Regions from separate parts of the Homo sapiens genome. Here all the other regions are linked to region 4. Evidence: promoter capture Hi-C in human tissues and cell types (Jung and others, 2019). All regions are on one chromosome and are shown on one strand. Each heading gives the region's core, a stretch centred on a gene start or on the middle of the fragment in contact. The rest is flanking DNA. Distances are from core to core; before and after follow the strand shown.

Evidence for each region. The method cuts DNA at HindIII sites, captures the fragments that hold promoters and counts their contacts. A contact is called where the count stands out against the background at its distance.
Region 1: a fragment that was not itself captured here is called in contact with the fragment with the promoter of MICAL3 in region 4 in 1 of the 25 tissues and cell types used here (mesenchymal stem cells).
Region 2: a fragment that was not itself captured here is called in contact with the fragment with the promoter of MICAL3 in region 4 in 1 of the 25 tissues and cell types used here (dorsolateral prefrontal cortex).
Region 3: a fragment that was not itself captured here is called in contact with the fragment with the promoter of MICAL3 in region 4 in 3 of the 25 tissues and cell types used here (aorta, dorsolateral prefrontal cortex and mesendoderm cells).

Annotation. Positions count from the first base shown.
Region 1 is chr22:17,639,102-17,645,070 of GRCh38, reverse strand. The region is part of intron 1 of BCL2L13 (BCL2 like 13); the gene reads right to left. It also overlaps the pseudogene LOC124905160. Among named protein-coding and RNA genes, the nearest start is that of BCL2L13, 3.3 kb to the right of the region's middle. RefSeq lists an enhancer at 5,432-5,969. The HindIII fragment of the contact is 6,703 bases long and covers 1,116-5,969 here.
Region 2 is chr22:17,674,879-17,680,416 of GRCh38, reverse strand. All of the region lies in intron 2 of BCL2L13 (BCL2 like 13), which reads right to left. Among named protein-coding and RNA genes, the nearest start is that of BCL2L13, 39 kb to the right of the region's middle. The HindIII fragment of the contact is 3,031 bases long and covers 708-3,738 here.
Region 3 is chr22:17,721,671-17,726,976 of GRCh38, reverse strand. BCL2L13 (BCL2 like 13) reads right to left here. Exons shown (of 7, transcript NM_015367.4): 7 at 1-300. Among named protein-coding and RNA genes, the nearest start is that of MIR3198-1, 40 kb to the left of the region's middle. The HindIII fragment of the contact is 3,159 bases long and covers 1,054-4,212 here.
Region 4 is chr22:18,023,161-18,028,941 of GRCh38, reverse strand. MICAL3 (microtubule associated monooxygenase, calponin and LIM domain containing 3) reads left to right here and starts at 4,381. Exons shown (of 32, transcript NM_015241.3): 1 at 4,381-4,661. RefSeq lists a silencer at 4,244-4,653. The HindIII fragment of the contact is 7,498 bases long and covers 678-5,781 here.

The DNA.
Region 1 (5,969 bases), core at 3,218-5,717, 380 kb after region 4:
TTGGGAAGCCGAGGTGGGTGGATCACGAGGTTAGGAGATCGAGACCATCCTGGCCAACATGGTGAAACCTCGTCTCTACTAAAAATACAAAAAATTAGCCAGGCATGGTGGCGTGTGCCTATAATCCCAGCTACTCAGGAGGCTGAGGTGGGAGAATCCCTTGAACCAGGGAGTCAGAGGTTGCAGTGAGCTGAGATTGTGCCACTGCACTCCAGCCTGATGACAGAGCAAGACTCCGTCTCAAAAAGAAAAAAAAAAAAAAAAGAAATTCCTAGCACTCACATTAGATATACTAATTTAGAGTATCACACTTATACTGTATTCTCTAACCTCACAGAACGAAAACCAAAACACCCTATAGTTTAACACATTTTAATAAATTATTTCAAAAACCTGTTTCTAAATTTCCTTCCACTAAAATATTATAAGATTATTAAATGCAGTCGGGCGTGGTGGCTCATACCTATAATCCCAGCACTTTGGAAGGCCAAGGCAGGCGGATCACGAGGTCAAGAGATTGAGACCATCCTGGCCAACGTGGTGAAACCCTGTCTCTACTAAAAATACAAAAATTAGCTGGGCGTGGTGGCACGCACTTGTAGTCCCAGTTACTTCAGGGGGCTGAGAGAGGAGAATGGCGTGAACCCAGGAGGCAAAGATTGCAGTGAGCCGAGATAGTGCCACTGCACTTCAGCCTTGTGACAGAGCAAGAATCTGTCTCAAAAAAAAAAAAAAAGAATTATTAAATGCTCCAGTAATACAGAGTTGAACACAACTATAATCCCAGTTTATAAAGAGAAAAATAAAAATTCACAGATAAATCCATCACAAATCAAAAAGCTGTAATTTTAAACATTAAAAGACCAGGCAAAGTTGCTCATGCCTGTAATCCTAGCACTTTGGGAGACCAGATGGGCAGATCACCTAAGGTCGGGAGTTCGAGACCAGCCTGGCCAACATGGTGAAATCCCATCTCTACCAAAAATACAAAAATTAGCTGGGTGTGGCGGTGTGCATCTGTATTCCCAGCTACTCAGGAGGCTGAGCCAGGAGAATCAGGCTTGAGCCCAGGAAGCGGAGTTTGCAGTGAGCCGAGATTGCACCACTGCACTCCAGCCTGGACAACAGAGTGAGATTCTGTCTCAAAATAAAAAAGTTGGCCGGGCGCCGTGGCTCACGCCTGTAATCCCAGCACTTTGGGAAGCCAAGGAGGGCGGATCACAAGATCAGGAGATCGAGACCATCCTGGCTAACACGGTGAAACCCCATCTCTACTAAAAATACAAAAAATTAGCCGGGCATGGTGGCGAGTGCCTGTAGTCCCAGCTACACACCTCCTGGCATGAACCCAGGAGGCGGGGCGTGCAGTGAGCCGAGATCGCACCACTGCACTCCAGTCTGGGCGACAGAGTGAGACTCCATCTCAAAAAATAAATAAATAAAATAAAAATAAAAAAGCAAACAACAACAACAAAACATTAAGTTTCTTGGCTATCAGCTCTTTAGTCTCATGACTCACTGGTGGCTTGAACAGGGAATTTTTTTTAAGTTCCACAAGTTAACATGGAGTCCAAAGCTATTTTCTAATCCATGCTTTGCCAGCTCCTATTGAATTGTAAGACTTTCTCTGAAAGAGAGTAAAATAATTCTAATAAAAATTATGAAATGGCCGGGCGCGGTGGCTCACACCTGTAATCCCAGCACTTTGGGAGGCTAAGGCGGGCGGATCACCTGAGGTCGGGAGTGAAGACCTCACAAGAGTGAAACTGCATCTCAAAAAAAAAAATTATCAAATGGTAAAAAATTCACCCCACCCATCTGAAAAATGCAACTGGACAAGTATCATTTTTAAAACTCAGCAGACACTAAAACTCTAGTGTAGACACTACCCCCTTTCCAATTAAAACAGGCCTAATTGTTCAATCTTGTGTTAGAGCTACCCAAAAATATTTTCACTCAGCAGTTGGCATTTGCAGATAATTCAGAGAACTGCCTTACTTTCATCCCGTCCTAGATAATCTGACTTTCACAATAATTAGGCTTCCTGTATATGGCTTGTGTAAATGGAGGACATAAAATTCAGTTACTCTGTTCCACTTCCAGATATATACCAGAGAAAAATGAAAACGCATCTGCACAAAAATTTGCACATGAATGCTCAAAGCAGCATTACAGACCAGGTGTGGTGGTTCATGCCTATAATCCCAGCACTTTGGGAGGCAGAGGCAAGAGGATCACTTGAGTCAAAGAATTTGAGACCAGCCTCAGCAACATGGAAAAACCCCATCTCTACAAAAAATACAAAAAAAATTAGCTGGGTATGGTGGTGTGTGCCCATAATCCCAGCTACTTGGAAGGCTGAGGCAGGAGAATCGCTTAAACCCAGGAGGCAGAGGTTGAGGTGAGCTGAGATGGCACTATTGCACTCCAGCCTGGGCAACAAGAGTGAAATGCCATCTCAAAAAAAAAAAAATGCCCATCAACTTATTTTTAAAATGTGGTATGTCCACACAATGGAATAGAATGCAGCAATAAAAAGGAATAAAGTACTGATACACACTACATCTTGGATAAACTCTGAAAACATTATGCTAAGTGAAAGAAGCCAGACAGGCCGGGCGTGGTGGCTCACGCCAGTAATCCCAGCACTTTGGGAGGCCAAGGTAGGTGGATCACCTGAGATCAGGAGCTGGAGACCAGCCTAGCCAACATGGCAAAACCCCGTCTCTACTAAAAATACAAAAATTAGCTGGGTGTGGTGGCACGCACCTGTAATCCCAGCTACTCTGAGTTACAGTTACTGAGACTGAGTTACAGTCTCAGTCTACTTTGGGACTGAGTTAGGTTCAACCTGGGAGTCCGAGGTTGCAGTGGGATCATGCCACTGCACTCCAGCCTGGCGACAGTGAGACTCCGTCTCAAAAAAAAAAAAAAAAAAAAAGAGAGAAGCCAGACACAAAAGACCACATATTGGTCAGGCGCGGTGGCACACACCTGTAATCCCAGCACTTTGGGAGGCCGACATGGGCAGATAATAAGGTCAGGAGATGGAGACCATCCTGGCTAACACAGTGAAACCCCGTCTTTACTAAAAATACAAAAAATCAGCCGGGCGTGGTGGCGGGCGCCTGTAGTCCCAGCTACTCAGGAGGCTGAGGCAAGAGAATGGCGTCAACCCGGGAGGCGGAGCTTGCAGTGAGTCGAGATGGCACCACTGCACTCCAGCCTGGGCGACAGAGTGAGACTCATTCTCAAAAAAAAAAAAAAAAAAACACATATTATGTGATCCCATTTTTGTGAAATCTCCAGAATAGGCAAATCCATAGACAGAAAGTAGATCAGTGGTTGCCCAAGGGTGGGGGTAGGAGGACCAGTAATAAAGAATGACTGCTAATGGGTATGGGAGTCTCTTTTTGAGGTGATGAAAATGATTGTGGTGGTGGGTGCACAACTCTGTGAATATACTAAAAAGTACTGAATTGTACAATGGTGAGTTGTATGGTACGTTAATTATATGTCAATAAAGTTGTTAAAAAAAATCAGCTACTCCAATCCTTTTGCGGTTCATAAAGAACCAAGATGACTGGGTTTCATGCTAATGCATGACATGTGCCTCCCTCAAATCATGTTGCCTCATGGGCTTATTGGCACATTACCGTCTGAGGAAGAACAAGAAAAAAAAATAAACCAATCTGAAAATACCACCCACCCCCACTTTGTATATATATTAAACAAGAACTCTTGGTGAACATTTATTTGGAATAAGATACAAATCAAAATCCTGTCTAAAAAATGATAAATGCAGACTGGAACTAAGTGAATGTTTAACACTTGTGTTTTGTATGCCTGAAGTATTTCACAATAAAATACATATCTATTTAGGCCGGGCGCAGTGGCTCATGCCTGTAATCCCAGCACTTTGGGAGGCCGAGGCGGGCAGATCGCGAGGTCAGGAGATCGAGACCATCCTGGCTAACACGGTGAAACCCCGTCTCTACTAAAAATACAAAAAATTAGCCTGTCGCGGTGGCGGGCACCTGTAGTCCCAGCTACTCGGGAGGCTGAGGCAGGAGAATGGTGTGAACTCAGGAGGCAGAGCTTGCAGTGAGCCGAGATCGTGTCATTGCACTCCAGCCTGGGCGACAGAGCGACACTCCGCCTCAAAAAAAAAATATATATATATATATAAAAAATTAATAAACAAACATATATATATTTTTTGAGTCAGGGTCTCTGTCATCCAGACTGAAGTACAGTGGAGCAATCACAGCTCACAGCAGCCTTGATCTCCCGGGCTCAAGCAGTCCTCCCTCTCGCCTCAGTCTTCCAAGTAGCTGGGACCTATGCCTGGCTAATTTTTTTTTTTTTTAATTTTTTGTGAAGACAAGGTCTCCTTATGTTGCCCAGGCTGGTCTCGAACTCCCGGGCTCAAGCAATGCTCCTGCCTGAGCCTCCCAAAGTGCTGGGATTACAGTGAGCCATCGCAAACAGCCAAATGAAATGTTGTTAATGATTATTACTGTTGCAAACCACTTGTCCTAAAAGCTTAATGTGTGTGATATTTAATACATGTTGATTAGATTATGTGCTAGTAAACACAAGTCTGTTTTTTTACAAGACTGGTTAGATATAGCCTTAGGCATCTTTCAATTGAATTCAACTACTGGTCCTTGCTGTAGGAGACAACTAAAAATAAAATAAAAAGTGAATCCAACTACTGAATATACTCTTCCACATAAAAAATGAGCCATTGGAAAAAAAATACAGAACAGTACCTGACCATTCCTAGTAAAAAGATTTTCAATACCCTTAACTGCCTATTACCAAATGAAGAATACTTCACTTGGGGGAGAGAGGGTGTTAAAAATGAAAATAATACTTCATGCGGTGGCGCGGGGGTGGTTGAAAAAAAGGTATCACCGTGCGCGGTGGCTCACGCCTGTAATCCCAACACTTTGGGAGGCTGAGGCGGGGGGATGACCAGAGATTGGGAGTTCGAGACCATCCTGACCAACATGATGAAACCCCGTCTCTACTAAAAATACAAAATTAGCCCCGCGTGGTGGCGCATGCCTGTAATCCCAGCTACTCGGGAGGCTGAGGCAGGAGAATGGCTTGAACCCAGGAGGCGGAGGTTGCGGTAAGCTGAGATCGCGCCATTGCACTCCAGCCTAGGCAACAAGAGGGAAACTCTGTCTCAAAAAAAAAAAAAAAGAAAGAAGGTATCTGAAGGGTGTGGCAACTCATCCAAGGTCACACTAGTCAGGGCAGAGAGCAACATTCTGCTTTATACTAAACCTCCAGAGGAAATCTTATAATTTCGCCAAAGAAGTTTTTGTTTTGTTTTACGCAACAACAACAAAAAAATAAAAGTAAGGAGGGAGGGCTCTCAGCTTAGTTCAAACTTCTAAACAGAGACAGTGAGATAGCTATTTTGAATAAACAAACACTTGTGCAGGGAGTGGCTAAGAGCTAACCAAAGCCAGCAGTCAACAGCATGTGAACAACTGGCCAGATCCGTCCGATTTTCAACGCTAGGTTAGAGCCTCCACTCAGAAAGTCGGTTATGAAGGCAAGAAATAGGATCTTTACAGAATGTTGGGAGGATAAATCAAAGGGGGAAAATGACTCCGTGTGAACTGTACTGCCTCCAAGGGCAAGAAGGCAGTTTTTTTCTGAAAAAATAGGTGTCAGAACAGCAGTGAATTAAGGTTAAGAAACAAGACTTCTAACAATCTCTGAGAAGAAACGACTAAGACTGGCAAAGCTAATCTTCCAGTGTTCTAAGTGAATCGCAGGAAAACCTTTCCCTCAACCAAAAAGAAGTCGCCGTTCCCCAGTTTAGCCCTAAAAATGGACCCGGGTTTTCCACGTGAAGCTGTCTGTGGGGAAGGACAGCGGCGTGGAGCCAGGGCCGAGCTCCTCCGCCTCCGGCACCCCACGCCGGAAGAAGCCTGCTCAGCGGCGGG
Region 2 (5,538 bases), core at 974-3,473, 350 kb after region 4:
CTGCCTCAACCTCCCGAGTAGCTGGGACTAAGGCGCCCGACACCATTCCCCGCTAATTTTTTGTATTTTTAGTAGAGATGGGGTTTCACCGTGTTAGCCAGGATGGTCTTGATCTCCTGACCTCGTGATGCGCCCACCTCGGCCTCCCAAAGTGTTGGGATTACAGGCGTGAGCCACCGTGCCCAGCTTTTTTTTTTTTTTGAGAGAGAGTTACGCCCTTGCTGCCCAGGCTGGAGTGCAATAGCACAATCTCGGCTGACTGCAACCTCCGCCCCCCGGGGTTCAAGCAATTCTCCTGCCTCACCCTCCCGAGTAGCTGGAATTACAAGTGCCTGCCAACACGCCCGGCTAATTTTTTGTATTTTTAGTAGAGATGGTGCTTCATCATGTTGGCCAGGCTGATCTCGAACTCCTGACCTCAGGTAATCCGCCCGCCCCAGCCTCCCAAAGTGCTGGGATTACAGGCGTGAGCCACCGTGCCTGGCCCATAAGTCTTAATATAGCCTTGTCTGGGAAACTTGCTTGGCCTTGTGTCAATTTCTATTACACAGGAGCCTAAGAACCTGTGGTTGGTAATAAGGGGAAAAAACGAACAAAGAAAACATTTGTATCCAGAGACTAGAACATAAAGGAGACCAAAACGTTTCTCCTGAATTCAAAGTGGGCAAATTTGGGGGTAAAACAGCACAGTTCCTTTTAAAGCTTTAAAAGCTTATATAAAAAGCTCAAGCTCTCCCTACATTGCAAAAATATTCTTTCTTGAATAATTTTTTTTTCTTCTACTTTCAGGTGATTTCAGTACTACAGAACATTTAAACAAAAAATTTAGGATAAAAAGAGCCAAACCAGCCAGGCACAGTGGCTCACGCCTGTAATCCCAGCACTTCAGGAGGCCAAGGCGGGCGGATCACCTGAGGTCAGGAGTTCAAGACCAGCCTGGCCAACATGGTGAAATCCCGTCTCTACTAAAAATACAAAAATTTGCTAGGCATGGTGGCAGGCGCCTGTAATCACAGCTACTCGGTAGGCTGAGGTGGGAGAATCACTTGAACCCAGGAGTTGGAGGCTGTGGTGAGCAGAGATCGCACCATTGCACTCCAGCCTGGGCCACAAGGGTGAAACTGTCTCAAAAAAAAAAAAAAAAAAAAAAAAGAGCCAAACCAATTGACATATGCAGCAGAATCCACATTCCCAGGACATGGGCCAGATTCACAATCACATCAATAATCCCAGCTTGGTTTTTAGCCAGAAGCATTCAGGGAAGTCAAGATAATTCAGAGTCATCCTAGGAATCTCACTCATTTCTGGAACTTAAATTCAGACTTACCTGAACACCCAGAGGATGCTGAATTGTATACTTAGCAACTAACCTTCTGTTAGAGGAGAGTGGTTTTTCATTTCCCTAAAGACTTGAGATAAGTAACTTGTGGGGACAATGAAGCCCCTACCTGGGTGTGGGGGAAGGGCCCTGCAATCAACTATACTCCACCATGCAAGAATTTCAGCAGAAAAACCAAACAAGCTAACAAAAAGCAGCATGAACTGGGCCACTAAGTTGCAGGTCTACCTACTATTCATTTATCCACTGAAGAAACATTGACTACCTGCTATTTATCAGGTATGTCCTGAAGCATCTACGCAGCACAAAAATGAGTAAGATTTGTCCAGCACATGAAACTATTTATATAGACTGGGGAAGTTCAGGAAGGGCAGGACAACAGCAAGCATTTACAAAGTACCTGTTACTTAACAGGCACGGTAGTAAACATTTCCTATGTGTTATTTCATTTAATTTCCAAGTCAACCTTATGAGGGATGAAATAATAGTTCCATTTGAAGATGAGGAAACTGAAGCTTGGATAGGTTCTACCACTACCATAAAGAAGTTATAATTGGAACTCTGGTGAGTCTGACTACAAAATCGTTAATCCAGGCTGTGCTCTCGTCATCTTCTGGTTGGGTGGCTAGGAATGAAAGATCTCAGAAACATTTCTGACATGATTAAATAGTTAACAGAGAGCAGAAAGGCTGTCTATATCGGTGATACTGTCTTCTGACAGGGACTTTCATGTCCCCTTATTTAATCTTCACTTCAGTTGGGTGTGGTGCTCATGCCTGTAATCTCAGCACTTTGGGAGGCCGAGGCAGAAGGATTGTTTAAGTTTAGGAGTTCAAGAACAGCCTGCGCAACATAGCTAGACCTTGTTTCTACGAAAAATAAAAAAAACTAGCTGAGCACAGTGGCATGTTCCCATCGTCCAAGATACTCGGGAGCCTGATGTGTGAAGATCACTTGAGCCTGGGAGGTCGAGGCTGCTGTGAGCCATGACTGCACCACTGCACTTCAGCACTTCTATATATTTTATGTTTCTAGACAGGGTCTCACCCTGTTGCCCAGGCTGGAGTGCAGTGGCACTATCATGGCTCACAAGAGCCTCAACCTCTTAGGCTCAAGCGATCTTCCCACCTCAGCCTCTCAAGTAGCTGGCACTACAGGTACACACCACCATGCCCAGCTAATTTTTGTGGGGTTTTTTTGTTTTTTTTTTGAGACAGAGTCTCGCTCTGTCGCCAGATCATGCAATGGCGCGATCTCGCCTCACTGCAACCTCTGCCTCCTGGGTTCAAGTGATTCTCCTGCCTCAGCCTCCTGAGTAGCTAGAACTACAGGTGCACACCACCACACCCAGCTAATTTTTGTATTTTTGGTAGAGACAGGGTTTCACCATGTTGGCCAGGATGGTCTCGATCTCCTGACCTCATGATCCACCTGCCTCAGACTCCCAAAGTGCTGGGATTACAGGTGTGAGCCACCGCGCCCAGCTGTGTGGGGTTTTTCTTTTTTTTGGTAGAGACAAAGTTTTGCCTTGTTGGCCAGGCTGGTCTCAAATTCCTGGGCTCAAGCAGGCCGCCCACCTTGGCCTCCCTCACGCTGGGATTACAGGCATGAGCCACCAGGCTCTGCCTATGTTTTCATTTTTTGCAACCAAATTAAAGAATCCCAAATTCTCAGATGGGCTTTGAATTAATTAATTCTATTAAGGTCAAGAAACTTGATTATTCTATCATCCACAGGTATTTAAAATACCTTTAAAAAACAAAAGGTTAAACATTTTTACGTATCACAGATTCTGATTCATTTTCTACTTTTAAAGCTGACAAAAATAACATGGCTTTAAGCGACATAAAACACTTTCCTTATGAGATGAGACTAACCAAAATAAAATTCAAATCCTTTTATTTTTTTATTTTTTTATTTTTTGAGAATAGGGTCTCACTATATTGCCTAGGCAGGTCTCAAACTCCTGGGCTCAAGCCATCCTCCTGCCTCTGCCTCCCTAAGTGCCAGAATCCTTAAAAGTTGAAATGTAACACAAAGGATCTCCTCAATGTCACCAATAGCATATACTTTGCTTAATGACATTTCACTTACTTCTGCCTAAGTAAATAACTTTGATAAACTACATTCATAAAAACTTGAAAATGTTACATAAAACAATCTATTATGCAAAAATTTGAGGCCAATTTATCCTAGAAAGATCCTATGCCAATTTATCCTAATCTTTATAAATTCTCATAAAGCATAAAAGTCTACCTTTACAGATAAGCTTCTACTAAATCTCCATTACTGTTTATAATTATAACAGGTTTTCCCTTTAGAAGTAATTTGTAGTGTTAGATGGCTCTGCAACAGCACTGATTAATATAACTGCACAAGATACAGTGATCTCCAGAATACATCATGACATTATTAAGTGAAATCAAACACAAGCTCAGAAATTAATTCACGGCCCATGCTATTTCTTGCAATAAAATTCTCTCTTTCCCTTCCAGCTTCCTGGAAAACAGCCGTAAAGTGGTTGATAAGCTTTGGAGTCAGGCCTTCTAACTCTTCACTTGGGCAAGGAAAATAATCTTCTTGACCCTCTCCTCTTTATGATTATTTTTTTAATTGAGACAGAGTCTCGCTCTGTCACCCAGGCTGGAGTGCAGTGGTGCAGTCTCGGCTCACTGCAACCTCCACCTCCTGGGTTCAAGCAATTCTCCCACCTCAGCCTCCCAAGTAGCTGGGAGTACAGGCGTGTGCCACCACACCTGCCTATTTTTTTTTGTTTTTAGTAGAGATAGGGTTCTGCCATGTTGGCCAGGCTGGTCTCGAACTCCTGACCTGAAGTGATCCGCCTGCCTCAGCCTCCCGAAGTGCTGGGATTACAGGCGTGAGCCACCGTCTCTCCTCTTATATAAAATGGGAAAATAATACCCACCACAAAGGGTAGTTGTGAAGAGTAATGAGATAAATGCCCAATCGACAGGTGCTCCCACTCACCAATTCTTTTCATGCTCTAAAATTGTATTATTAGATAATTATCTTTCCTGGCCCCTTATCTCTGTGAACAGAAATTAGCTCATCACAGATTTTTAATCAAAGATGCTTATACAGAACCTGCTTTCCACACTGTGAAAGGTAGGAATAGCAGGACAACCTCTGTCAGTTTAGATAATGCCATGTAATATAAAATAAGGCTGTTTTAACACAAACTAGGAGAAATCTTGACAGGCAGTTATTCTTGCTCTTCAATTGCTGCTAGAGAGAATGGCTTAATATGTGTTGCTTAAATTTGTTGGACATTGCACAACAAATTGATTGGGGAAGTTTTACTAAAAAGCTGTATTCCTGAATACCAGATGTTCTGCAACCTGTTTCCAAGGGTGGCTTGCCTCTAATGGACTTGCCTTCAATTTTTTTCCAGGCTAAGGTAATCTCTGTCATACTCAACAATGTAAGAATTTTGATCAATCACTGTCATAAGCTACAGTGAATGAACGTGCTTTTAAGAGAAATCAATCCTTCTTGTAGCTACTAACACTCCTTCAAACATACTTCAATGACAGAAACAGAAATAACAACCAGGCTGAAAAAAGTTAGCCCTCTATTCCACAAAAACATTTCTAACTTAATATCTATCATTCTACTCTTGACCTCCCCTTAATCAGAAACTCAGAACACCTACACGTTTTAGACTTCTTGCAGATAATATAACCTATTGGATCCATTTTTCTACAAGGTTTGAATTGTAGACCTCATGATTTGCCCACCCTGGTCTCCCAAAGTGCTGGGATTACAGGAGTGAGCCACCGCGTCTGGCCGATATTGACAACATTTTCTACTGCATTTCTGTGTCCTATGTTATAAAGCTCTTAGTGGGAAAAAAGAAATCTTTTAAAAAACTATTTTCCAACCAAAAGGAACTAGTATAGCTTCTAAATTATAGGGGTAAAAGATTCCTGGAACTAAATATACCCTCTGTTTTATAGTATATATATGTGTGTGTGTGTGTGTATACATATGTATGTATGTATGTATTTGGCTTTCCCAAGAACCAAATTCACAGCTCAGCACTAGTATAATTGTAGAGGATCTCACAGACTACTTACCTATCTATGATCTGTTATTCCTACTATAGACATGTACAATTTTCCTACTCCTGATTTTTTTATTTACTATTTGGATTTTTCCATTATGCATCATAAGCCACA
Region 3 (5,306 bases), core at 1,384-3,883, 300 kb after region 4:
GTTCTCACTCTTCTCTCCAGCTCCGTTGCTGTCTAAGCTTTTCACTTCTTCAGGATCCATTGCAATCTGCTGCCAGGACTCAGGGCCTAGTGACACTGGCAGGCTTTCTGTGTGCCAACTCTGGCTAGCTGACAGTGACACAGGTAAGCTCTCAGACTGCCAGGAAGTGGTCACAGTTGGAGACTCTGGGGGACTGACTTGTCCAGAGTTGTCGCTGGGCAGGATGTAAATGTCATTGCTATCTTCTGCAGTGATTCCAGGGTATTCCTCCTCCTCTGACTCAAGACTAAACACAGTGCCCTAGAAACGAAGGACAAGCGTCAATAATAAAGAATGGTAACTATTTAAAACATAAACATCAATCTGGAAAGCAAATTCTTTCCTAAACTGAAGTTCTAGGAATGAAACACTGTTTAAACCTACATAGTTTCCGAATGGAATGCATGTATTTGTAGGCCAATGCAGAGAAAGAATTTTTGACAGTCTTCTGAGCAGTCTCCTTGAAACTAAAAAATCCTAAGTTAATATACATTCAGTGTAATTCACACACAGGCTGAGAGCATCCTAATCTGAAAACCTGAAATCTGAAATGATCCAAAATCTGAGGTTTTTTTTTTTTTTTTTTTAAGATGGAGTCTTGCTCTGTCTCCCAGGCTAGAGTGCAGTGGCACAATCTCAGCTCACTGCAACCTCCGCGTCCCAGGTTCAAGCGATTCTCCTGCTTCGGCCTTCCCAGTAGCTGCAATTATAGGCACCTGCCACCACGCCCAGTTAACTTTTGTATTGTTAGTAGAGATGGGGTTTCACCATGTTGGCCAGGCTGGTCTGGAACTCCTGACCTTCAGTGATCCACCCGCCTTGGCCTCCCAAAAGTGCTGGGATTACAGGCGTGAGCCACTGTGCCCGGCCCAAAATCCGAAACTTTTTGAGTGCTGAAATGACATCACAAGTGGAAAATTCCACACTTGACCTCATGTGGTGGGTTGCAGGCAAAACACAGTCAAAAATCTGCTTCATGCACACAAAATATTATATATATTTATGTTATAAATATTGTATATTTGTAAATTAATATATTAATATTATATAAAATTACCTTCACGCTATATGTATAAGGTGCATACAAAAAGAAGTAAATGTCATGTTTGGGCTTTCCCATCCCCAAGACATCTCATCACATACACACAAACATTCCAAAATCAAAAAAAAAAAAATTAAAATCCAAAACACTTCTGATCCCAAGCACTTTGGATAAGGGATACTCACCCTGTATGTTCAATGCAGTAATTAATGCAAAACAGCAGAGAAAACAAAGGCAAGACCTTGTGCTCAAGGAATTTATCACTTAGTAGGGTATACAAATAATGCTATGTCATAGTCCAAGTGCCATTAAGAGTTCATATGGCAGTGTTGCTTTCCTTAGAAGAAGAAGAAAAAAAGTTCAGATGGGAAAAAGACCTCTTTGGGTAGAGGTCAGAGAAAGCAGGGAGATCACAGAAAGCCTCACGGAGGGACTAGCATTTCTATCAGACATCTGAAGAATGGGTAAGATTTTGGCAGGCGAAGGGTACACAGAAGACACAATGCAGGCAAAAGCACAGAGACAGAAAAAAAAGAAGATAAGGACAGAGCCCTGTTTAATTAATGCAGAGTGCCCATGAAGAATAGAAGGTCAGTGAGGACAGGACCATGGAGGAACCTGAATGACAGCTAAGAAATATGGACTTTATCCAACAGGCGATGGTTTGTCACTGACATCTCTGAGGTACAAAATTATAATCAGAGCTTTGCTTTAAAATTCCTCTGATGGCAGAGACAGAATGGAGAAATGCTGCAGACACGGAGACTCTTGCTTCTTTTGTCAGGAAGTCTGAGTGAAAGCAATAAAGCCCTACAGCACAGGCCTTGTGTCCATGTCTATTAATAACAGGCCACCGTGTGCCTACTGCTTATCAGGGTTGTGTCAGGCACAAGGGCTACGAGAAAGAATGGGTCTATTCTTACAGAATTTACTAGGCAGCTGTGAAGCCTGACATATGAATAACTAACTTCAATATGATACAGAAAGCTTTATGACAGGTGTATGCACAAGGGGCTAGGCCAACCCAGAGGGTAAGGCGCAATAAAAGGACAGGAAGAGAACCAATGGAATGGAATGTCACAGAGATGTACAGAAATTGTCATACAAAGGCTAGACAACACTCGTAAAAGCTACAGGGAATCTGAATGGAATATGTAAAGCAAATTAATTTCTACTTCATTTTATGATTATGGTTGCTATTCAACTGAAGTAGGATAATTTCATTCTTCAACCAAAACCAAAAACTTTCTACATACATCAAGGATCTAACATAAATCAAAAGTCTATCAGCCCCATAAAAAAGGAAATAAGAAATACAAATAAATCACACGACCATGATGTCGGCATCATACTGCACCACTTTCTACCTCGACCCTTGCTCCAGCCACTTCAGAGGCCCTGGTAAGCATCAAGGATGTTCTATGAGTATGGAATAATCAGGGGGTTAAAATAATACAGTATGACCACAAAATTCACAGTCAAAAACAACTGGCTTGTATCCCAGCTCCAACTGTGTACCAGCTGTGCGAATCTGGATACCTTGCTTAAACTTTTAGACTTCAATTTCTTCACAAATAAAATGGGGATGACTGACTAGATAAGATTGTTTTTGTTGTATTTTTAGAGTTGGGGTCTCGCTCTGTCACACAGGCTGAAGTGCAGTGGCAGGATCACAGCTCACTGCAGCCTCAACCTTCTGGTCCCAAGGGATCCTCTAGCCTCAGCCTCCTGAGTAGCTGGGAATAACAGCATGGGCCACTGCACTCAGCTAAGTTTTTTTATTTTTTGTAGAGACGGGTCTCTCTATGTTGCCCAGGCTGGTCTCAAACTCCTGGCTTCAAGCAATTCTCCCACCTCAGTGTCCCAAAGTGCTGAGATTATAGGTGTGAGCCACCACACCTGGACTTGAGTTCATTTTTAAAATGAGGTATAGTTTGTTTTTTGTTTTTTTTTGTTTTTTTTTTGAGACGGAGTCTCACTCTGTCATCAGGCTGGAGTGCAGTGGTGCAATCTTGGCTCACTGCAACCTCCGTCTCCCAGGTTCAAGTGATTCTCCTGCCTCAGCCTCCCGAGTAGCTGGAACTACAGGTGCACGCCACCATGCCCAGCTAATACTTGTATTTTTAGTAGAGACGGGGTTTCACCATGTTGGCCAGGATGGTCTCAATCTCTTGACCTCGTGATCCACCTACCTCGGCCTCCCAAAGTGCTGGGATTACAGGCGTGAGACACCGCGCCCGGCCCGAGGTATAGTATTTATAGTGCTTAGATTAGTACTTTGTACATAGGAAGTAATCAGTAAGTTATGCTATTTCATAACTTGCTATTGTTTGTGTTGTCATTTTAATTGTTGTTTTTGGTGGTATGGTGGTAGGACAAAGAGCTATTCTAAAATACCAACTGGATGGGACAATAAGGAAGTGAAAACAAATGGAAACAATACCCTCCCTTGGCTAAAGAAGGTAATTTACAAACTTTTCCTTCCTCCTCCATCTCTTCTAAGCAGAGATAACACAAAACTGTAAAGTAAAATCTGTCTTTAAAAATTACAGTACTGCAGTATACAATTAGGAAAATTGGAGGGCCCATTGGCTTGGAAGAGAGGGCTTCTAGGCCTCCCAGCTTTTGAGGATGACAGCTTGCCCCAGCCTCAGGGTAAGGACCACTGGAATGGTCCAGAAGAGGATGCATTCAGGAGAGGGAGAAAGAGAGAGGGAGAGAGGGAGAGGGACAGATAGAGAGAGACACAGGGAGGGTTTGGTTCAGCTAAGTAAGCAAAGACATGGAGATCCTAACCGGAAGCTGTAATCAGGTCTCAAGCTTACACATTTTGCAAGGATTTTCATTAGCATCATTTTTAATACAGAAGGATTTCAAACAGTCTTCAATACCCTCAGGAAAGTTTAAAAATATATATGGTTCATCCAAACTATTTAACTACTATTAAAAAAGAAGTACATTTTTAAGTCCAATGTGGAAGGAAGCCCATATTGTACAATAACTCTACATAAAAAACTACAAAGTATTATTGAAAGAAATTAAAGATATCCTAAAGGGATATATATATCATGCTCATAGATTGGAAAACTATTGTAAAGATGTCAGCTATTCCCAGATTAACCCTTTGGTTCAATACAATCTCCAATATAAAATCCTACCAGGTTTTTTCTTATGGAAATTGACAACTAATTAATTCTAAAATCTATATAGCAATTTAAAAAGGCCAAGGAATTTAAGCTGATCTTGAAAAACAACAGTTTGAGAGCTGACACTACCAGGTATCTACTCAACCCATTACAAAGGCACACTGATTGTATAAGCATGGTAAGAGCTTAAAAATAGGCAATTAGACCTGGCTGGGCACAGTGGTTCATACCTGTAATCCCAGCACTTTGGGAAGCTGAGGCAGGAGGATCATTTGAGGCCAGGAGTTCAAGACAAGCTTGAGCAACATAGTAAGACATCATCTCTACATACACACACACACACACACACACACACACACACACACACACACCCCTGTAGTCTCATCTACTCAACTCAGGAGGCTGAAATGGGATGATCCCTTGAGCCCAGGAGTTTGAGTCTGCACTGAGCTATGATCGTGCCACTGTAGTCCAGCCTGGATGACAGAGCAAGATCTTGTCTCAATTCCAAAAAAAACAGAGGCAATTAGACCAATTAAATAAAATAGAATCCAGAACTAGATATATAAGGTCACATGATTTGTGGCAAAGATAACTCTGTGGGAAAATGGATGGTATGATCCTATTTACTAAATGCACATATATACATATCTACTTATTTGCATATATTTATACATAATAAAATGTTTATATAAGCAAAACACATGTTTAGAAAAACGTACACCAAACCATTATGAGTTATTTCTAAGGGGCAAGGTAACAAGAAAAGTGTGCATCATAAAAATTTCTTGGCCGGGCGCGGTGGCTCATGCCTGTAATCCCAGCACTTTGGGAGGCCGAGCAGGGCAGATCACGAGGTCAGGAGATCGAGACCATCCTGGCTAACACGGTGAAACCCCGTCTCTACTAAAAACATAAAAAATTAGCCGGGTGTGGTGGCTCACGCCTGTAATCCCAGCACTTTGGGAGGCTAAGGTGGGTGGATCACCTGAGGTCAGGAGTTTGAAACCAGCCTGGCCAACATGGCAAAACCCTGCCTCTACTAAAAAATACAAAAATTAGCCAGGCGTGGTGGCACA
Region 4 (5,781 bases), core at 3,132-5,631:
ACCTGGCTAATTTCTATTTTTTTTTCCTAGAGACAGGGTCTTGAGCTGGGAGTCCTAGTGCACACCTGTAATCCTAGCTACTCGGGAGGCTGAGGTGAGAGGATCCCTTGAGCCAGGAGTTCAAGGCTGCAGAGCTATGATTGCACCACTGCACTCCACTCCAGCCTGGATGACAGAATGAGACCCTGACTCTTTAAAAAAGTAAAATAAAATAACAGGTTCTCGCTATGTCACCCAGGCTGATCAAACTGCTAATCTTAAGGGATCCTTCTGCCTCAGCCTCCGGAGTAGCTGGGATTACAAGCTCATTCTTAATGTTTATCCTGTCAACTATAGATTATAACTAAATTTTCATCTATTTTTGATTAGCTAGCTATGGTAGCTTTCTGTCATTTACAAATGTAGGCAGCCTGCCTTCAGACTTCAAGATTACTAATGAGATGCAGAGTGACCTTGAACTAGACAGTTAACCTCTGTAGAGCTCTGTTTCCTCATCTGAGGAAAGCAAGGGAGCAGAGAATGACCTCGTAGGTCTCTAGGAATTTCAGTGTACCTTATGCAAATAAAATGGCCAGCTGGTAAAAGACAGGGAAGGGGAAAAAAGCATAGACTGACCCCTTTCACTCATGGTATAAAGTGGTCAAGTAAATGTTCTATGTTCAAATATATGTATTTTAACTTTAAACCTCAGGCATTGTCTTCAGGTAATTAAACTCTGTGAACAACATGGTAGATACCTTCATTCATAATTAAACATTCAATTTTTGCATAGTGCTAGTCTGTGGGGGAGAAAAGCTGCAAAATTTACAGGTATTTTGTCAATTTAATTGCAGTAAATTTGTTCCTAAATTCAGTACGTTATCTAAAACTGCTTGATGAAATATTAGTCTTTTTTTTTTTTCTGAGACAGAGTCTCACTGTGTCGCCTAGGCTGGGATGCAGTGGTGTGATCTCAGCTCACTGCAGCCTCCTCCTCCCAGGTTCAAGCAATTCTCCTGTCTCAGCCTCCCGGGTAGCTGGAACTACAGGCACACGCCACCGCACCTGGCTAATTTTTGTATTTTTAGTAGAGATGGGGTTTCACCATGTTGGCCAGGATGGTCTTGATCTCTTGACCTCGTGATCCACCCGCCTCGGCCTCCCAAAGTGCTAGGATTACAGGCATGAGCCACCGCACCCAGCCAAAGTCACTAATACAAAGTATTAGTCTTATACTCACTTTAATGCAATAGGTGCTAAACACTGTTTTCAGTATTCAGAAATTCACTCAATAAGAGAATTTATAAAAGATCTATTGCCACGTTGAATCCACTCCTATTAATTTTCCAACAGCCTTTAGCCCTAAATTTATTCAAGAGTAAAAAACCTTTTGGCCTGATCTGATTTTAGAAGGTACATTTTAAAATAGTCAAAAGGACTAGATTCCCTCCCATCACACTTAACTTTCTCAGTGGGGAAAAAAACAAACGCTGAAAAGGTTTAAAGAGATTCTAGAGTTGACATTGAGCCCCCAGCCCTCACCTTCTGCCCTCTTTGCTATCTTCTCTCAAGGAAGAAGAAAGCAGCATTAGGTTTCATTTCATCTTGGAGAACCATCAGCGAGATCACACAGCCTTATTGCCAACCTTTGACAGTTCTATTACTCTAGTTGCTTTTCCTGAGAGGTCTCCCCTACCCCACCCATCAAAGCCTAACCCTCTCTGACAAGTTTTTCAATTTACCCAATCATCCCATCAGCAGTAAATGCTGAGATTAAAACGTGAGGATCAGAGGGACAGGGCAGCTTTTCTATAGCAGGACTGAGGCTGAGGCCATCAGCAGGGTCAGTATCAAGTGAGCTCCAAGCTCCGGCATCCCTGGCTTAACCCAGGGCCTTGGAAAGCTCACCCCTTTCTCTTATTTTCTCTCCCTATTCTTACTTATTGAGGATTTTAAAATAGTAAAGGAGATACTGCGTTTTTCTGAGTAAATCAAAATAATCAACCAAAAAGCTACAAAGAACTAACCCTAGTTTCCCAAAGAGTTTGTGAGCTAAATAATTTAAATGCTATATACCAGGTGAGGGCACAACAGATGTGTGGAGGGCAGTGGAGTGGGACCGTGCAGGTCCTGTGGGGAACGGGGCTGGGTGAGTTGGATATCCCCATTGGAGAGGATTGGAAAGTCTTTAAAATGTTAATACCCTTGGACTCAATATTCCACTTCTGGGACTCACCTGGAAGGAAATTATTCACACATAGGAGCAAGATTTATGAAGAAAAAATTTTATTGCCATTATTTACAATCAATAAAAGTTGGAAATATTCAATAAAAGGGAAATTATGAGATATTCATATGATAAAAATATTGTATGACATTTAAATTAATGTTTTTTAAAAATCCTCAAAGGAGGAAGAATTTCCCACAAAGTTATTTTTAACAAAAAGCAGGATGCACTTGTGTGTCTGTGTGTGTGTGTGTGTGGTTTTATCTCAACTTAGTTTAAAGCTAGAAAGCTAGAAAAAAGACTGGAAAGAAATATGAATATTACTAATGGCTTTCTCTAGGTGATGAGATTATGAATGCTTTTCTTCCTTTATGTTTCTATATTTTTCAGTTTTTCTAAAATAAACGTTTTCGCCTAGTGCAGTGGCTCATGCCTGTTATCCCAGCACTTTGGGAGGCTGATGAGGGCAGATCGCTTGAGCTCAGGAGTTTGAGACCAGCCTGGGCCATGTGGCAAAACCCCATCTCCACAAAAATTAGCTGGGTATGGTGGTGCATGCCTGTAGTCCCAGCTATGCAGGAGGCTGAGGCAGGAGAATCGCTTGAACTTGGGAGGCAGAGGTTGCAGTGAGCTGAAATTGCACCACTGCCCTCCAGCCTGGGCAATAGAGCAAGATCCTGACTCAAAAAAAAAAAAAAAACTCCAGCGTCAAAAATAAAATAAAATGAGAAGTAGGAGAAATTATTAGAGATTCTGGACCTTTTAGGGCATTTTTCCCTAATATCCACTCAGGCCGTGCCCAGATGGCCTTGCACCTTCAGCTGTGGCATCAAACAAAACTGGGAATTGCAGCTTTACCACTTATCTCGCTGCATAAGCTTCCACAAGCAAGTTACTTACTGTTTGTGCTTTTAGGTTCTTAATATGTAAAACAATGTTTTACATTAAAAATTAAATGAAATAGCTCCTGAAAAGCCCAGTCACATTGTCAGAGCTCAGTAAAAATGTGTTCCCTTATTCTAGTACTGGGGCAGAACACCTGCAGGTTTGTAGGTGGGGAGACAGTGGACAGAGTGGCTGGGTGATGAAGTGGGGCTCTAGAGGATGAGCAGAGATTGCCTCTGAGCCGACACCCTGGCCCTGTCAGTTCCCGTCCTCACATGATGGACATGAAGGGAACACGAATGAAGCAGATGATGATACGGTTAAGTAAATACCACCTGGGACCAGAGAGAGCCCTTCTCAAGGAGTCGCCAGCCCAGAGTCGGCCCTCTTCTGAGCTGGCCGGCTGGAGTCAATCTGCTTTGGACAACACAGCTTCAGATGGAGATAATACTGAGGCCAATGATCCTTGAAGACAAAATAATCTCTGGGCTTCTTTCTGCTCTGATTATAATGTTGCAATTATACTGAGCAGATGCTGATAGGAATTTGGTCAAATCCATCCCGTCTTCCATCTAACTTATTTTAGTGCCTGGTGGATTTCTGTCCAGCTCCACGGGCTGTGGCAATGCCGGGGCTGGCTGGAAGTGTGGAAGGGGCTGGCTGGAAGTGTGGAAGAGGCTGCCCGGGCTCCGGCATCAAGAGGTTTTCTCCGGTGGGGAGGAGTGCGCGATCTGATCCTTGGAGCGCTTGCAACTGTAGCCCTCCCCCAGGGCTCTGCGCTGATCTCCAGGGTCATCATCATAGTAACAGTAAGAACTTCATTTTATAGCATTTTTCAATCTGTAAGACAACGTCGTGTCCTTTATACCGTTGAAATTTCAATTTCACGACTACTCAGATGTTACGCGACTTGCTCAGTATCCAACACTTGGTTCCTTCACTGGCTCCCGGAGACCTGGGTGCTGAAGCCACTGCAAGGAGGTGTGTGCTCGAACACACAGCGAACACCGACTGCGTGGTTAGCAGGATTCGCTGGGGAAGAGGCCTCAGGAGAGTGCTGGAATTTCCAACCTTCGAGGTGCTAGTAACGTGTGTCGAGGAAGGGGTTGGAGAAGGGGAGAAAATGAAAAGAAGGGGAGAAAATGAAAAGATGGGGAGGAGGAGAAATGGTTTGGGTTTGGTTTTGGCTTGAGCCTCACCCAAGCGTCCCACGCCGCAGCTCCGCGGCCTCCTGGGGGCGCCCGCTCGCGTTGCCACGGCGCTCGCGCGGAGCCGCAGCCCGCCCAGCCAGCAGCGCGCGCTCCTGCAGCCCCGGCGGAGTCCCGGCGGGGAGCGCCCGCGTAGGCAGGCACCCGGGGCAGCCCTCCGTCCTCGCCGCGCGGCCTGAGAACCCCTGGGCCCTGGGCGAGGGGGCTGGGCTGTGCAGCCCCCGAGGCTAACTGGGCGGGATCGCAGCTGCAGGGGTTGTGCGAGCAGCCACGGCGGCACCTGTGCCCTGCGGGCACCCACCCTGCCCCTGCCGAGGCAGGCGCCCACCGCCGGCGGTGATGCGGCTGTGAAGCCCTAGTCGGTGAGTACCCTCCAGTCCCCCTGTGGGCGAGCGAATCTAAATGACAAGGTTATGTGTTTTGCTGGATGTCTTCTAAGAATCATTTATTTAGATTGCTTATGGTGGGGAAGCGTTTCCTTTGTGACATCTTTGTGTTTCTCGGATCTATTTCGTTTCCCTCTAAACGCAGCCCTCTCTCCCCTAGTGGGAAAGACACCCAGTATCCGTGTCTCGATCATCGCACGACACCCACCAGTGCGGATGCCACGTACCACACACTCCCCAGAGCCTGCCAGAGAGCAGGGCTGTCTCCCAGCCACGTCCACCCCATTTTCATTGTGCTTCTATCCCGCAGGCAAAGGAAGAGCGTACCCAGGCACCCCCGAGGTAGGCCAGGTGTCAGGACAGCCAGCAGGCCCTTGGCGAAGCCGGGTCCGCTCTGGCTAGCTCAGCGCGGTGAACCCATGAGCTCATTAGGAGCAGCGGCTGCTTTGCGCGGGGAACGCCGGTTTCCCTGCGGCAGAGGGGCCCTGCACCCGCCCGCGGCGCGCGGTGGTGGCCCAGGACCAGTGGCGCACACGCTTGCGCTCCCAGGCTGCAGGGCGCGCTGCGCCGGCGCAGCTCCCGGGCGTGTGCAACAAAAGGACGGCCAAGTTCATTCCCTCCTGGAAGCAGAGGGCGGGGCCGCATGACTTCTGGAGGCTGCATGTGTCTTAGAATCAAATGGTTATGACTCCATAGCAAAATGCTTTCTGTGTGTCAAGTCCTCTCCGTGCCTGCCAACCCCTTCCCTCCTCTCTCCTCCCTAAAATGCTTTCTTATTGGTCTGGCACTGTGATCAACTATTTAGAATTTTCATTGTAAAGAAATGAAAAAAGGGTGAAACCGAGACAAGCTGTAGGCTGAAAGGCTGGGCCCTGTGGTGCTATTCATTAGCTCTCAGGCCTGGCTGCTGGGGAGATTTTTAGAAATCCTGCTACCTGGGTCCAATCCCTGGAGATTCTGACTTAATTGGTCTGGGATATGGCCCAAACACTGGGATTTTTTAAATTTTCTTTTTGTGGGGAGGAGTGGTGGTGGGAAAATTTGGAGTGCATACTGGATTTTTTTTTTTTAACTTCCCAGGTGATTCTAATGAGCT